6 separate regions of the Homo sapiens genome follow, and regions 2, 3, 4, 5 and 6 are each linked to region 1. The links are contacts of gene promoters, found by promoter capture Hi-C in blood cells and fetal thymus (Javierre and others, 2016). All regions are on one chromosome and are shown on one strand. Each heading gives the region's core, a stretch centred on a gene start or on the middle of the fragment in contact. The rest is flanking DNA. Distances are from core to core; before and after follow the strand shown.

Region 1 (2,615 bases), core at 35-2,534:
GGCTGTTTACACTCTGGATCCCTTTCAGACCTCATGGAAGTTAATTTTAGTTTTATAGAAAGGACAGAGAAGCAGATTGCTGTCTTTGCAGAAACTGTCTCCGTTAAGCTTATGAGAGTCTTACCTTTCTGGTTTCCTGGGCATTACCAGAGAGAAGGAAGCACTGTTTGTCCTGAGAGAATCCTTTCTTGCATCTGCTTGCCTGGGTTTCAGTGGATGTGTGTGGGACAGCCCCAGGGGCAGCGGCTGTGAGCTTCCTCGACCCTCGGAGGGTCAGAGTCTGGTAGAAGAGACAGATTGCCACCACTAAGCCCACCAAGAAGGGTCGGGGGCAAAATCGCCGACGACAAGGGAACACTGGGCGACAGACCATGACCAGTTCAGCTTCACTTGGCCCCTGTCCACGTTGCGGGAAAAGTCATAGCAGCTATTTTTTGTCAGCATGAAAAATACTAATCTGTCTTCTTTTTCCCCAACTCCAATCAAGTTTGCTTCATCCCTGCTTAAGAATTTTCCAAAAGGTTGTGCCAAAGAATCATAGGTCCCGAAAGTCTGAGGCTTTTAATAAGAGCTCTTCCATGGATGACAGTCAAAAGTGGATGACCTGAGTTTAAAAAAAGACATCAAATAATAATAGTTGTAACGAATAACCTGAGTGTACCCCAGGCTGCCAAACTGTTGCTTCCAGCAATGCCTTATTCTCACATCTTTCAACTCACAGTAAAGGAGTCCGACTCTGCCTCAGCTTTGCAGGAAGAGAGAAAACAATACCAAAGTATATCTGGAGTCTGAAAACAGCATTGAAGAACGCAAAAGATTAAAACCCAAAGTGCCTGTTGCACAGCTGAACTCAGGCCAGGTTGCCTTAGCAGTTCCTCAATTTTCCTCCGGTTTTAAAGCAGTCTTGCTTTCAGCCTTTTGTATGCTTCCCTTCATTTAGTTTTAAATTCCCACTGTCCTGTAAGTATTCACGGCTTTTAACATAAAAAGGGCATACGCAATTTGAATGGACATGGTTACTGTCAGGGTTTTTGCTTGAATTTGTTTCATTCCGTCTCAAGTTCAAAGTTCTATGTACTTACTCAGTTTTCATCCTTTTAGCCAGGAAAAAAAAAGTTTCCATGATTTCCTAATGGATTGCTGATGAAAACCACTCGGAAGGAAACACCCAGTCGTATGACTCCAATTCATCTCACACACACACAGAGAGAGACACACACACACACGCACACAGACACATAAACACACGCGCGCGCGCCCGCTGCACGCCCGGCGGGAGCAGAGGACCTCGGCATCGCAGCCACCCGGGGCCGGGCAGAGCGGGGCGGAGCTAAGGCCGGGTTCCTCTGGCCCTGGGGGCTGCTGGAGCAGCGCTGTCAGCCCTGTGTCCGAAACCGTGGGCTTCCCCACTTTGGAAACAGCAGCTAGCATTTCCCCAAATGAGGCTGCCCACCCAGAGCTGCAGAATTTAGAAACGTATCTGATGTCTGATCCTCTGTGCAACTTCTTTTTCCTAATACAGAATTGGAAAAACAAATAGCCTTAGCCAATTGGTGACAAAGGTCGAGAATGAGACTAAAGTGAACTCCATGAGTGAATTGGGATATTCTTCACTCCAGGGAATTGTGGTTACTCTTCTGAGGATAAGAGGGTCACAAGTACTGTCTGGACCTCAGACAGCAAGCACCAGAATAACTCAGTCGTCTCTCTGTGTCTTAGTATGGAACTCAGATCACAGATGTTCTTATTACTCCTTTCCTGGACTAATTAATTGGGTCTTTCAATGATCTGATGCTTCATGGCCTGACATTTTGCTCCTAAAATGAGTCGATTATAGCAGGTGTTGGGGGTAACTTTTGCCCAGTAGATAAAGGTACACAGTGGGCTTTGTCCAGAATCAGCTCAGTCTAATTCTGTGCAGACCTTCGGGTGGACGCTGCTAATAGTGCAATTCTGCAAACCCCCTTCCACTTTTGCTGAGGCTGTCAAGGCGAAAGGAAATCAGTCCTTGCTTTGTGAACTCTGGATACCCAGGGCTGTCTTAGCGCATAGCAGGCATTATTTAAAGGCTCTGGACCTGAAGAGGTTTTCAAACTTGTTTCTAAGCCAAACTCTTGTGGGTTGAGGTTCTCCGTGAGGCCACACCCCTAGAGTGAGCCTCACCCAGAGGCACGCTGCTGTCAGCCCCTTGTATTTTGAGAGACGGAGCGCCCCCTAGGGGTGCCCAGCTAGCACAGATTCAGAGAAATGGGCATCTAGAGTTCCTTGCTTGTGAGAAAGAAACCCTTTTAACATCCTATAGAACAAATTAATTAACACATTACAGAAGAAATATTCACACGGAAGCTGGATTTATCCCAAGCCCTTGCATGTATCGCCTCCAGTGGCTTTAATATTATTTTATGTATAGGTTCAGAGTCCTTAATCTTATGACAAATGGGATAGAGAAAAATAAAGTGATGCTTCACTTTTAGAAGCCAAAAGAGTTTTAAGAGAAAATGGCTGAACAGTGGTGTTGTAGGACATATCGTTTTGGTGGATGCAATGTGATTTGAGAGATAATAAGAATTGTGAGATTTCTAAATTGGAATCCAGGGTGTGACAATGCTGTTACT
Region 2 (2,615 bases), core at 50-2,549, 210 kb before region 1:
AGACTTGTGGGAAAAGGTTTAAAAATAAAGCTGAAAAAAAAAAAGAAACTTTAGTGTGATCTAAAATTCGGTCTCATCTATTCTCTGTCAGCGTACGGTAGCACGGGGAACTGAAGAAACACTCTTCAGCCTTTGAAAATCAATGTGCATTTATAAGAGAGCTGCTGCCTTTCAGTCATAGCATTTTCCCTGCTGTCTTATAAGTATGTCCTGCACTAAATTTTACATGTCCCCAGACTCCTATTTAATTCTCACAGCTGGGAGACAGGACTAAGTCCAGCCAAATCTGTTTTCCTAGAGTGCCTACAAATCTGCCCTTTAATAATTTATTTTCTCTACTATAATGGTCTCTAACTAAGCTCTAATAGATTTTGCCACACAGTTGCTGCTTTAATCAGAGAAGAGAGTTTTATGGGTTTATTAATCATGCTCTTTTTCAAAAGCTGCTGATTAAGCATTTGCCTGACAGTTGCAAGCAGTCAGAAGGTACAATGGAGGCTGTTTGCTTACTGAGTAGCAGCCTGCAGGTAGCTTTCTCATAGGGCCCACAACAGACTGCATACAGCTAGTGCCAACTGAGCAGACTGAAGTTTCAATTCCCCCCAGCTCCCAGCAGCAGATTGTTCTCAGCAATCTTCTCCCCACCATTTTATTCACCAGGACTATTCCAGCAGCCAATAGCAAAATTCCTTCCTGCTCTCCACATCCCAAAGCAGCTAAATTATTTCTGAAAACTGAATGACATGCTTGGCAAAGAATGTATTCCACCCTGAGGCGCTACTTACAACAAGGTTTTCTTTGGCCTCCTCAAGCAGCAGACCCACTAAACACCATCTCCCCCCGGCCTTCTAGGAAAGCGGCAACCTAAGCCACATAGTCCCTTTATGTGTTATAGTCAAGGCACCAACTAACAGCCAAACAACACAGCAAGGCTTCCTGGATTCAAGAAAACCCCTATTTCTCCAAGGCCAATTTACAGCACACTCATAGGAACACACATTCACACCAAACACCAACCAAGCTTGAGGTTTTGTTAGAAGTCAAGATACCGGTAATAAGCAGCAAGTTGTGTTTTTGAAAGAAAAATTAACTATTGAATGTTTTTACACTGAAGATAAATGTTTTCTTCAAAATGCATAACTGTCTGGAAGTCCTTCATATTTCTTAGATATGTGTGTAAATTTCCCTATTCCCTTAGTGGTTATTACCAAGTAGAGAAGAGTGAAAATATCCTTGAGGTGAATTTAGTAATGATTGGTCCATGACTTATCTAAACTTTTCTACATTTGGTTCCAGAGCAAACATTTAAAGCAGTACTTCATATTCTCAACCTAGCATAACTGTGTTAGATGTACTTCTCCTTTGACTTAAAATGATCAGATTTCTAAAATTAAATTTTTGCTGGAGTTATCAACATTATGTGATGTATCTGTAAACACTAGAAAATGAGCAGTTCTTTGTTTCAATATGGGTTTTCATATAATGAAAGGTGATTTAAAATGATAGTAATTAAACTATGGAAAGAATAAAGCAAAAATATTTTAAAACTATCTTATGTTTCTTCAAAATCAAGCTTTTAACTCTACACAAAGATTTCCTGGGTTAGTATTACAGATACCTGTGTAGATATTTCATCATCATGTCTATTAAAAGTCTGGGGTCTTACATGTTTCTATTTGTATCTCCTATTTTGAAAGAATTAATGGACAAATAAAACAGGAGACTTTAGTATGGTACTTTATACACTGTAGTATACTAAGCAAGAAAATCATAATATTGAAAACTAATGGTGCTCACTTCACCAACACATATACTAAAATTGGAATGATACAGAGAAGATTAACATGGCCCCTGTGTAAGGATGACATGCAACAAATTCACGAAGCGTTCCATATTTTTAAAACAGAAAATTTAGCCTGGCATGGTGGAACAAGCCTGTAGTCCCAGCTTCTCAGGAGGCTGAGGCAAGAGGATCACCTGAGCCCTGAAGGCCGAGGCTGCAGTGAATGGTGAAAGCACCACTGCACTCCATCCTGGGCAATGGAGTGAGCCCACATCTCAAAACAGAAAAACAAAAAACAAACAACTAATGAGAGAAAGGGATGTTTTTAAAAACAGATCATTTTAGTTCTAATGAATTTATAAAAATTAAAAACTTATTTTACGAGACATTAGAAAGTCCCAATACACACATTTGAATTCATTTCTATCCTTCACATCATATTACATTTTTAAATAAGCAATGACACATACTGAGCTTTAAAGCTTGACAGATTTAACAGAAAAACCAAAACCCCAAACCATACAGCTGGTAAATGAAATAATCATCCGTTAGTCTTGATATGTGGAGATCATATATGCTCTGCTTCAATCACCTGAAAAAAATGGTAAAATAAATCTATACTTCAGTCCATTTTAATTAAATTATATTTAATCAGCATTATCCAGGTAGTGCCATGAACAGTTTTTACTGCTATCATTTCAAAATATATTATAGGCCGGGTACAGTGGCTTGTGCTAGTAATCCCAGCACTTTGGGAGGCCAAGGCAGGTGGATCACCTGAGGTCAGGAGTTCAAGACCAGCCTGGCCAACAGGGTGAAACCCTGTCTCTAC
Region 3 (2,615 bases), core at 77-2,576, 200 kb after region 1:
TTGCAAACAAAACTGTTAACTGTTTCTTTGGGAATTTTTAAAAGCTTTCTTTGGTTAAAAAAAAAAATCACCATTTTTTAAAAGTAGAAATTTAAGAAGATTATTTTTAGACTGGTTAAAAGTCCATTCAAAGTGCCCTGGAGACTCAGAGATGGCAACAAGAGATGATGTCTGTCCTTAAACACTGTAGAATCTGGGTTAGAGACACTTGTGCTAACCACAGGAAAAATAAATAAGGGAATATGCAGTGAGTGGGGCCCTTCTTAAGAATAAGAGATGGAGTAGAGTGGAATTAAGGCAGCTATGCCAAGGAGATGGCGTTCAAGCTGGATCAGAAGGAGCAGTGGAGTCTAGCTGGCTCATGGAAAATATTCCATGAGCCATGAGTTTGAGGTTAAAAAGTATACATTATTTTGGAGTTATGACTTATGGTTCAATGTGGTTAGATCATAGAATGATTGAAGAGATGCCATGGGACAGGAAATGAATGAAATTTGAGTTTGGGTGCTTTGTTCTGTAGGCCCAAAGTAAAGTCACCGAAGCAATTTCAGAAAGAGAAATGATGAATATTTCATTAATTTAACTGGATTAGCCAAGTGAGAAAGAGGGGACCAGGAGACAGTTATACTTATTTTGCAACTCCTGGGTGGGTGGGCCACCATTGACCACAGCCTAGGTAAGTGGAGCACTTGAGAGTTGTACACACTGCAGGCCCTGGCAGGAGACTGAATAGATTGCTGTTGTTGTGGTCCTGGAGAGGGATAAGGATCCTCACCAGGACAATGGAAGTCAAAAAACAGAGTGCATAAAACAGATCACAACAGGGTGAATCCACAAAAATTGGCAGTAGCTAGACCTCAGGGAGTGTGGGACAAGAAGTAAAAGTACTGAAATTTCTGGATTTTGTGCCTGGCAAATTGGCAATGGCATTAACCTAGATGGAAGACTGGAGGGGAACGAGTATGAGAGGGTAATTAATTTGGTCTGAGACACAGAGTTGGAGATGCCTGCAGGACATGCAGATGGAGATGTCTACAGGCAGCTGTAAATTTCAGTCTGGAGCTCAGGAGAATTCACTGTCAAGCCTGAGAATTTTTATGCATTGCTTTCCCATCTCAGGAAGCCTGACAGAAAATGGGCTGGGAACCAAATCTTATATGAGGAGAATCTTAAATAGATTGCCACAGAAGCTTCCTTTTGTCTGAATTCCCTCTCCTGTGGATGAGTCAAGGGAGGTAAAGAAAGAAGAAATCACTATACTACTGAATCTTCTCTGGCAAAGAAGCTGCCCCTTTTTTAAAACACTGCCAACTGCTATGTTGCTTCACCCAACCCCCTTCCTATTGTCATCCTGAGATTTACAAGCAGATTCGTCTCCCCTGTGAACTGAGTTCTCATTTCCTCACATCCTAGAAACATATATAGGAGAATCTTTGGTATCATCTTGATCTTGAAAGCTTTTCTTTTTCTATTTTTATGTGTTAATTGCAATCACTCTTTACCTCATACTTTCAGGGGTGCGTACTAGGTACCAGGCACATGTAGGAGGTGCTTTACACTTATTTTCTCTGTTCTTCACAACTCATTTGCAATTTGCAGGCACCCCACTTTATTTTACAAATGAACAAGAGGGACTCCAAGAGACTGAATACATTTACTTAGCTAATATGTGGCAGAGCTATACTTCCACTTTCCCCATTTTGTGGCATGGTATCTTCACCAGCCTGTGGTGAAGCTCAGATGATTCTTTACCTAGAAAAGCCAAATTCTCCTACATGTAAATCAATATCACCAGGCCAAATCAAAATGATGCTCTTGTCTAACCTCATTCCTACTATTATTTCCCAAGAACAAGTATAAATTATCTAAAATATCTTGTACACACACATACACACACAGGCAAATTAAGTTCTGTTTTTTTTGAGACAGAGTCTCACACTGTCACCCAGGCTGAAGTCAGTGGTGCAACCTCGGCTCACTGCAACCCCTGCCTCCCAGGTTCAAGCGATTCTCCTGCCTCAGCCTCCCAAATGTCTGGGATTACAGCTGTGCATCACCACGCCTGGCTAATATTTTGTATTTTTAGTAGAGATGGGGTTTCACTATGTTGACCAGGCTGGCCTTGAACTCCTGACCTCATGATCCGCCCACCTCAGCCTCCCGAAGTGCTGGGATTACAGGCATGAGTCACCATGCCCAGCCCAAATTAAGTTCTTTAATCAACTTTATTGAGATTTTATATACATATATATATAAAAACATACTATATATATATACACACACACATACACACACACACACCCCTAATAAATATACCCCTTTCAAGTATATAGTTAATTAGTTTTGGCAACTATATATACTCATGTAACCACAACAACAATCGAGATCTAGAACATTTTCATCGTGTCAAAAAGTTTCCTCTTGCCCATCTGTGATAAATCCTGCATTCCCCTCTCCTAGCCCCAGGCAACACTGATCTGTTAACTATCACTCAGATTAATTCTTGTGAAACTTTATTCTTATCTTGCTGCTTCCTTACTCGAACACTTCCAGAGGTTCCTTGTTGTAAGAAAGGCAGAGCTTCCCAACTCATTCATGTATATGTTATTTATAAG
Region 4 (2,615 bases), core at 54-2,553, 180 kb after region 1:
GCATATGAACACAAAGTACACCCGTTTAGCCCATTATTTGGGGGAAAAAAATGTGTGCCCAAGTGTTTGGATGTTTTATTGTGTATTTCCAAGTAATCAAAAAAAAAGTTAACAAAGAAAAAAACGAAGATTTTCTGTGGTCAGGAATTTTGAAACTGCTTCTATCGATATGACTATCTTAAAAAATAAGATTTCATAATAATCCTAATCTCTAGTTCTGTTGGAGCCTTATTTGCTCATGTCTCCCTTTTTTCCTTTTTGGTTCTCTATCTTTGTGTTATTTGTTGAATGTCAAGCTTGCTTTACTAAGCCCAGTCTATATTACTTCATAGATCAGATGGGAATGTCCATCCAGTTTCCCAGAGTTGCCTTAATACTGTGTGTGTAATGAGATTTGCATTTGTATACCTCAATTTCTCATGGCCCTGCAGTAAAATCATAGCTTGATATACTGACCAGATTTCTGGCCAGTAATGACTGTTGTATTGTATTGTATTACAACAATGACTGTGGTACTGTATACCTAAAGCTCTGTCATGATTAAATACTCTGTAATAGACATGGTGCTAGGTGATTGGAGAATAGAAGCACAAAAATGCTTTACTTTAAAAACTGTTCTTTCTTTTTAAATTATTTTTAATTTTTTTATTTCAATAGGTTTTTGGGGAACAGGTGGTAGTTGATTACATTAATAAGTTCTTTAGTGGTGATTTCTGAGATTTTCGTGCATCCATCACCTGAGCAGTGTACACTGTACCCAATGTGTAGTCTTTTATCCCTCGTCCCCCTCCCATCCTTCCTCCCGAGTCCCCAAAGTCCATTGTATTATTCTTATGGCTTTGTGTCTTATAGCTTAGCTCCCACATACGAGTGAGAAAATACGATGCTTAGTTTTCCATTCCTGAGTTACTTCACTTAGAATATTGGTCTGCAATTCCATCCAGGTTGCTGTGAATGCCATTATTTTTTCCTTTTTATGGCTGAATAGTATTCCATGGTATATATATTTTCTTTTCTTTTTTTTTTTTTTGAGACCGAGTCTCGCTCTGTCACCCAGGCTGGAGTGCAGTGGCGTGATCTCGGCTCACTGCAACCTTCGCCCTCCGGGTTCACACCATTCTCCTGCCTCAGCCTCCCAAGTAGCTGGGACTACAGGCACCCGCCACTACACCGGCTAATTTTTTTTTGTATTTTTAGTAGAGACGGGGTTTCACTGTGTTAGCCAGGATGGTCTCGATCTCCTGACCTCGTGATCCGCCCGTCTTGGCCTCCCAAAGTGCTGGGATTACAGGTGTGAGCCACCATGCCCAGCTGATATATACATTTTCTTTATCCACTCATTGATTGATGGGCTTGGGCTGGTTCCACATTTTTACAATTGCGAAATGTGCTGCTATAAACATGAGTGTGCAAGTATCTTTTTCATATAATGACTTCTTTTCCTCTGGGTAGATAACTAGTAGTGGGATTGCTGGATCAAATGGTAGATCCACTTTTAGTTCTTTAAGGAATCTCCACACTGTTTTCCATAGTGGTTGTGCTAGTTTACATTCCCACCAACAGTGTAAAAGTGGAGAACTGTTCTTTCTAAAATTCTAACATACCTCTTAATTACAACTTTTGAAAAAGTGTTGATAAAATTATCCCAGAGTGAGGCTTGAGTTGAGCCAAATTCTTTCCCTTCTTAATTCTTTCCTCTTTGTTTTAGTACTATTATCTGCAGTTGCTTCAAAGAGCAACAACTTCATAGCATTTTGAAATCAAATGAAGGACATTTCTCTGCAGAGGTTATTTGTTATGTGAAAGTCTTCAGTATGTCTGTGGGATGTACAGTTAATTACTTGTTGGTGATTTCCTTGAGCATTAAAGTGATTTCTCATTTTTTTCCTTAGTACAAAATACCTCTTCATTTATCACAAAAATCTATACATTGAGATTGTCCAATAACTACATTGAATACTCTGAGCTAAATTTAGGCCATGAGCAAATATAAATTTAAAATAGTATTTGTCAATTAGAAGACATTCCGAGTATGCGTGTGTACGTGTGTGTGTGTGTGTGTGTGTGTGTGTGTGAATCTGTGTCTGTGTGTGAGCTACAGCTGTTGATATTTTGCTTTTTATCACCAGGTTCCAGTACAATGGTCAGATATGGTCACTTTGAAAGCCAGGATGACAAATTATGGATTACCTAGATATCGGTGGCTTACTCATGCTTGGAATTTTTTTCAGAGAGAGGTAAGTGCTACAATTTCTGAGGTAGAGAGAGTGAAGTAAGTGGTGCACCTTCAAACCAGATGTTTAAAGCTTTAGCTTTGGTAATTTCCTCTGTGCTGAAAAATTAAGCCTGTGATTCAGTAACCTCTGGTGCAATTATTTCTTGAAAAATATCTTAGGTAACTTCATGGCCTGCTTTTCTTCCCATGTATACCATTTCCCCTTTATTTCACATGGTTCACATATATTTAAGAACATCTGAAAAGCCATTTTGCTAAATTATTGTGAAGTTTTCTTTTTATGAGAGTTAACTTGATAAATATCCAAGTTCCAGACAAATAGATTTTTTCATGACTTTTAGAGCTCTCAATATTTTAAACATAATTTTAGTTTTAAAAA
Region 5 (2,615 bases), core at 43-2,542, 160 kb after region 1:
GAATGAACATGAGAATACAGATATCTCTGTGGCATTCCTATTCATTTCGTTTGGATGTACACTCAGAAGTGAGATTGCTGGATCATATGGTAATTCAATTTATAATTTTTTGAAAACCTCCATACTGCTCTCCATAATGGCTGTACTAATTTATATTTACTCAAACAGTGTACCAGGATTTTTTTCCCCCACAGCCTTGCCAACATTTGTTATCTTTTGTCTTTTTGATAGTAAACATTCTAAGAGCTACAAGTTGATATTTCATTGTGGTTTGAATTTGTGTTTTCCTAACAGTGATGTTGAGCATTTTTTTTCATCTCTTTGTCTTCTGTTGGGTATTTGCATGTCATCTTTTAAGAAATGTCTGTTCAGGTCCTTTGCTTATTTTTTAATTGGGTTATTTACTTTCTTGCTATTGAGTTGTTTGAGTCCATTTTATGTTTTGGATATTAGTCCCTTAACAGATACATGGTTTGCAAATATTTTCTCCTAATCAATGGGTTTCACTCTTCTAATTGTTTCTTTTGCTATGCAGAAGCTTGGTAGTTTAATATTTTCTCATGTGTCTATTTCTGCTTTTTTTCTGTCTGTGACTTTGGGGTCATATTAAAAAATCATTGCTCAGATCGGTGTCCTGGAGTTCTTCTCATGCATTGTCTTCTACTAGTTTTACAGTTTCAGGTCTTACATTTAAATCTTTAAAACATTTTTGTTGTTTTTTTGCTTATGCTGTGAAATAAGAGTAATTTTATTCTTCTGCATATGGATATCCAGTTGTTCCCCTTTATTGAAGATACTTTCCATTTCCCATTGTGTGTTATTGGCATCTTTGTCAAAAAATCAATTGGCTGTAAATGTGTCAGTTTACTTCTTTCTGGGCTTTTTGTCCTTTTCCATTGGTTGATATCTGTTTTTAGGCTACTACCATGCTGTTTTGATTACTATAACTTTATAATATATTTTGAAATCAGGTAGTGTGATACCTGCAGCTTTGTTGTTTTTGCTCAGGGTTACTTTGGCTATTTGGGGAATTTGTAGTACCATAGGAATTTTAGGATTTTTTTTCCTGTTTCTGTAAAAAAATGACATTGGAGTTTTGATTGGGATTGCATTGAATTTGTAGGTCACTTTGGATAGTATGGACATTTTAACAATATTAATTCTTCTAATCCATAAACATGGGATATCTTTCTATTTGTTTGTGTCATCTTCAATTTCTTTCATCAGTATTTTATAATTTTCAGCATATCGATCTTTTAACTCCTCAGTTAAATTTACTTGTAAGTATTTTATGGCTTCTGATGCCCCATGAAAGTATGTCAGCAGATGTCTTCAAAAGTAAATGTTGTGTCAGAGACAGGGGCCAGGAAAACTGTGTGATATTCATGGCCTTAGTGTTGGGTCTTTATGAGAGGATTTTGGCTGTTCATTGGAACTTTGTCTTTCTTCAGGGTTTGAAATATGAATGATTCAAGTTTTTGTATGGTGTACTATGTCACCGTAAGCATTTTAAACCTTATTATAGATTGTTTTTAGATATATACATTTGAGATAATTTTAGTTAAATATAAGCCAAATATTTCCATATCCATTGATTTGGTGACTGTCCTGAGTTTGTGCAAAGTTCAAAGTCAGGTATTTTTCTGGCAGCACATGCTATTGAAATGTTCATTCCACCTGTGAATACTGGTCACCAATTCAGCGAATGCTTCCTTGAGGAGAGTTCAGCAATTGTGCTGTGTTTTCACTTTCTCATTTACTTCCACATGTCTCTCTACTAACTTCCTTTGGCAAACATAAACCAGAAAACATTCATTTAAAAGGAGATGACTGAGGAAACAGTATCCTAAATGTAAAGAGAGTTAAAACAAGAGGGCGGATAACGTTTGTAAAAGTTGAGAGAATTAAGTCATTTAAGCCAGTGAGGAAAGCAGCTTTTAGATGGAATATTTAGAAAAAAAAAAAAATCATGGTTAGTATTTGCTTTATGTGCAATGTCTAATGAAGTTGTTGGCTAAATAAGATTATGAATTAAAGAAAGCTTTTTCTTGAAACTATATAAATTTTAAAAACTCACATTTTTAGAATTGTAATCCATGTGTCTTTTCCTTTTTTCAGAGAAAAGGTAATAGGCTCAGGTTACATGCTCAGGCTAAGATAAATTTTCTCAGCTTAGATGACAGAAACAATAACTTAAATTGTATTTAAAATGTTTTAACACTGTAGTTGTATCACTTTGTATTTCTGTTAAGCAGCGCATTTGAATTATTCTAAAATAAGTGGTTATTCCTGAATTTTCTTTATACAGCCGTTATTTTAGTTATAAAACTTTAAACTTTAGAAACAACAAATTTCCTTAAAATAATGACATTTTAGAAACATAATCTTTAAGAAGAATATGAATACAATTCTAAAGATTTAATGAAATAACAGAATTTTATTAAATGATAGCAACTTAAAAATAATTTCTAATTAAGTAGAATATGAATCATTGCTGTGTCTTTTCCAGTAAACAAGCATTTAAAATATTTTACAGTTTCACATTCTGTATAGGGCTTGCACAGTTGAGTTGAAGCACAGACTGAGAACTTCTAATGAGACAATTAGGGTTTTTT
Region 6 (2,615 bases), core at 40-2,539, 140 kb before region 1:
ATGAACTCTATTTTTTTAATTTGTTGATAATTTATGTAATTAAATTTTGTATATATTATTTCCTTAAAATGAACATTTAGAAGTAAAATTTCTGATCTATAAAAATAACTTTTAAAGCTTTTCTTAGATTTTAAATGGCCCCTTAATAGAGGTTGTTCTAATTTATACGTCCACCAGCACTATGAGAATACTGATTTCCATACACTCTCTCCAACTTTACTATCTTTTTTAAAGTTTTATTTTAATTGACACATAATTCTGGGGTATAATGTGAAATATTTTGATACATGTATACATTGTGTAATGAATAAATGTGGCTAATTAGCATACCTATCACTTCAAACATTTAACATTTCTTTGTGATGAGATCATTCAAAATCCTCTCTTCCAGCTATTTAAACATATATATTGGTTAACAATAGTCATCCCACTTTTTAATAGAACAACAGAACTTTTTCTTCTACCTAACTATAACCAATCTCTAGCCACCTCCTTCCCTTCCTACCCTCCCTGGCCTCTAATAACTACTATTCTACTCTCTATGAGAGCATAAAACTGGTAAACCCTCTCTACTTCTGTGAGATCAACTTTTTTCGATCCCACATGAGTGAGATTATGGGGTTTTTATCTTTTTGTGTCTGGCTTATTTCACTTAACATTCTCCAGGACTATCTATGTCACAAATAACAAACAACAGGATTTCTTTCTCTTTTGTGGCTGAATAGTATTCCATTGTGTACATACACCCCCATTTTCTTTATCCATTCACTGATGAACACTTAGTTTGATTCTATATCTTGGCTATTGCGTGTAGTGCTGTAGTTAACATCAGAGTACAAATATCTCTTCAACATACGGAGTTCATTTCCTTTGGATAGATATCCAGTAGCAGGATTGCTGGATTCCCTCTCTATAATTTTAAGAAAATCCTTTCCAAATTTAAGGGAAAATAGCATTTCCTCATTTAATTTTCATTTTTGATTGCTAATGAAGCTAAATAGTTTTGCATTTTTTTGCCAGGAAATACTTATTTTTATGTTGAAATAAGTGGGAATATCTATATTTTTACCTTTTTTATTTTCTATTGCATCAAATGGCACTTGTGGTTTTTCAATGTTCTTATCTTCTGTGAAAGAATTCCTGCAAATGCAATGCCAAACAACTCTGGATTAATGAAATGAACAAAACGCGTGGAAATTACATCTAACACACTATCTTTTCTTCTGTATGGGCACAGTTACTTTGATGAACACAAAAAAACGCTTTCTGCATTTCAATCCTCAAAACTGGCAATCTACCCTCAAAGGAAGTAGGTGGAAATCTCATCATCCCTAATCAGTAGAAGCATATTTGAAGAAAACCAGGGTAAAAAGTCCCTCTCAGTCCAAATCTGAGGAATCTCAGATAGCTTGGGTCCAATAGAAGTGATTCAAGAATACACATTCTTATTGGAAATCTGTTTGGCTATAGTTACACTGTTTTGGAGCAAAAAATCTTGGAATCACCAAGGCACAGCCTGAGAAGAACATACATTTAATTGAAGAAATAAGTATACCATGCAGAAAATGACCTATGTCTTGCCAAGTCTTCTACCCTTAAACTCTAATTAACAGTAGTGAATAGCAAGGGTTAGTTAAATTCTGGTGTGTTCACCTAATTTTCTCTGTTGTATAACTAACTAAATACTTGGCCAGATTGCCCTTTAAATCCTCAAATTTGGGACCAAAATAATTTAAATTGCAGACAGAAAAATTGCTGGTCCTGATGATAAAGAACAGCAGGCAGGATCATCTGCAGGCCCCTGACAAGACTTTCCTGTGCTGGTGCAAATCTCCATTTCCACCCCAGCACAATGGAGATAACAATGTTTACCTTACTTCACAGGGATGCTATGAGAGTTAAATACAATTTTCTTTGTTAAATAACATTTTAGAAATATGTATTGTCCCAGATATTGTGCTGCGTACTGTAATGGAGAAGAGATGAATATGACATATTCAGCTCCAAATATAAACATCAGCTAGGAAATTTAAAAGCATCAAGGAATTAAAATTATTGCTAAAGTTGGAAGCCATGATAATTTTTTGCAGTTTTATTTTAAAAACTGTTTATTCCAGGTGACTTTTACAAAAGACACAACCCTGAAATGCACAGAAACTGAAGTTTGGAAAGGTTACTATCTTAATGGAATGAGACACTGTATGTAAAGGCATCTTGCAGTGATTTTCTGCATAATTTTGTGAATACATTGTTTCAAATCCATGTGGATTTTCATTGAAAGCATTTCCTTAGAGTAATGTACAATGCAACTGTACTTCTAGGAAGGTAAAATTAGCACATGGTGCACCACATTGATTTTAAGATTTTCATTCTGTTCAGATTCACACTAATTCTGTTGAGATCTCTGGATTTTGAGCCTCAGGACAAACATATAACTATTACCTGGTATTGTCAAGCTTTCCTGACTTTCTCACCTCGTTGCTACAAGACAATGATCTTTCCTTAAAAGGAAAGATGAAGTCATTGAACACAGGTAATGTACATCCATAAAGTTGACATTTTCTATAGAAAAAACTGTGGTAACCATTGAGAAGATAAGGACAATGATGGCCTCC

Evidence for each region. Contacts are between HindIII fragments. The CHiCAGO score rates a contact against its expected background, and 5 or more counts as called.
Region 2: a contact is called between a fragment that was not itself captured here and the fragment with the promoter of CPED1 in region 1, in 1 of 17 cell types (monocytes). The highest score is 5.2, in monocytes.
Region 3: a fragment that was not itself captured here is called in contact with the fragment with the promoter of CPED1 in region 1 in 1 of 17 cell types (naive CD8 T cells); the score reaches 5.3 in naive CD8 T cells.
Region 4: a fragment that was not itself captured here is called in contact with the fragment with the promoter of CPED1 in region 1 in 4 of 17 cell types (monocytes, megakaryocytes, naive CD4 T cells and 1 more); the score reaches 8.7 in monocytes.
Region 5: a fragment that was not itself captured here is called in contact with the fragment with the promoter of CPED1 in region 1 in 1 of 17 cell types (neutrophils); the score reaches 5.8 in neutrophils.
Region 6: a contact is called between a fragment that was not itself captured here and the fragment with the promoter of CPED1 in region 1, in 5 of 17 cell types (monocytes, M0 macrophages, erythroblasts and 2 more). The highest score is 9.2, in monocytes.

What each region holds. Positions count from the first base shown.
Region 1 is chr7:120,987,380-120,989,994 of GRCh38, reverse strand. It overlaps CPED1 (cadherin like and PC-esterase domain containing 1), which reads right to left and starts at 1,284. Exons shown (of 23, transcript NM_024913.5): 1 at 1,083-1,284; 2 at 125-604. The coding sequence starts at 373. RefSeq lists an enhancer at 2,029-2,108. The HindIII fragment of the contact is 5,089 bases long and covers 111-2,615 here.
Region 2 is chr7:121,194,232-121,196,846 of GRCh38, reverse strand. All of the region lies in intron 16 of CPED1 (cadherin like and PC-esterase domain containing 1), which reads right to left. All of the region lies in intron 1 of LOC124901735 (a long non-coding RNA gene), which reads left to right. It also overlaps the pseudogene RNU6-517P. Among named protein-coding and RNA genes, the nearest start is that of WNT16, 130 kb to the left of the region's middle. The HindIII fragment of the contact is 552 bases long and covers 1,024-1,575 here.
Region 3 is chr7:120,783,789-120,786,403 of GRCh38, reverse strand. No RefSeq gene overlaps it. Among named protein-coding and RNA genes, the nearest start is that of TSPAN12, 73 kb to the left of the region's middle. The HindIII fragment of the contact is 267 bases long and covers 1,193-1,459 here.
Region 4 is chr7:120,810,085-120,812,699 of GRCh38, reverse strand. It overlaps TSPAN12 (tetraspanin 12), which reads left to right. Exons shown (of 8, transcript NM_012338.4): 6 at 2,130-2,237. Among named protein-coding and RNA genes, the nearest start is that of TSPAN12, 47 kb to the left of the region's middle. The HindIII fragment of the contact is 2,010 bases long and covers 299-2,308 here.
Region 5 is chr7:120,828,741-120,831,355 of GRCh38, reverse strand. All of the region lies in intron 4 of TSPAN12 (tetraspanin 12), which reads left to right. Among named protein-coding and RNA genes, the nearest start is that of TSPAN12, 28 kb to the left of the region's middle. The HindIII fragment of the contact is 1,503 bases long and covers 541-2,043 here.
Region 6 is chr7:121,132,348-121,134,962 of GRCh38, reverse strand. CPED1 (cadherin like and PC-esterase domain containing 1) reads right to left here. Exons shown (of 23, transcript NM_024913.5): 13 at 1,070-1,140. Among named protein-coding and RNA genes, the nearest start is that of CPED1, 140 kb to the right of the region's middle. The HindIII fragment of the contact is 2,339 bases long and covers 120-2,458 here.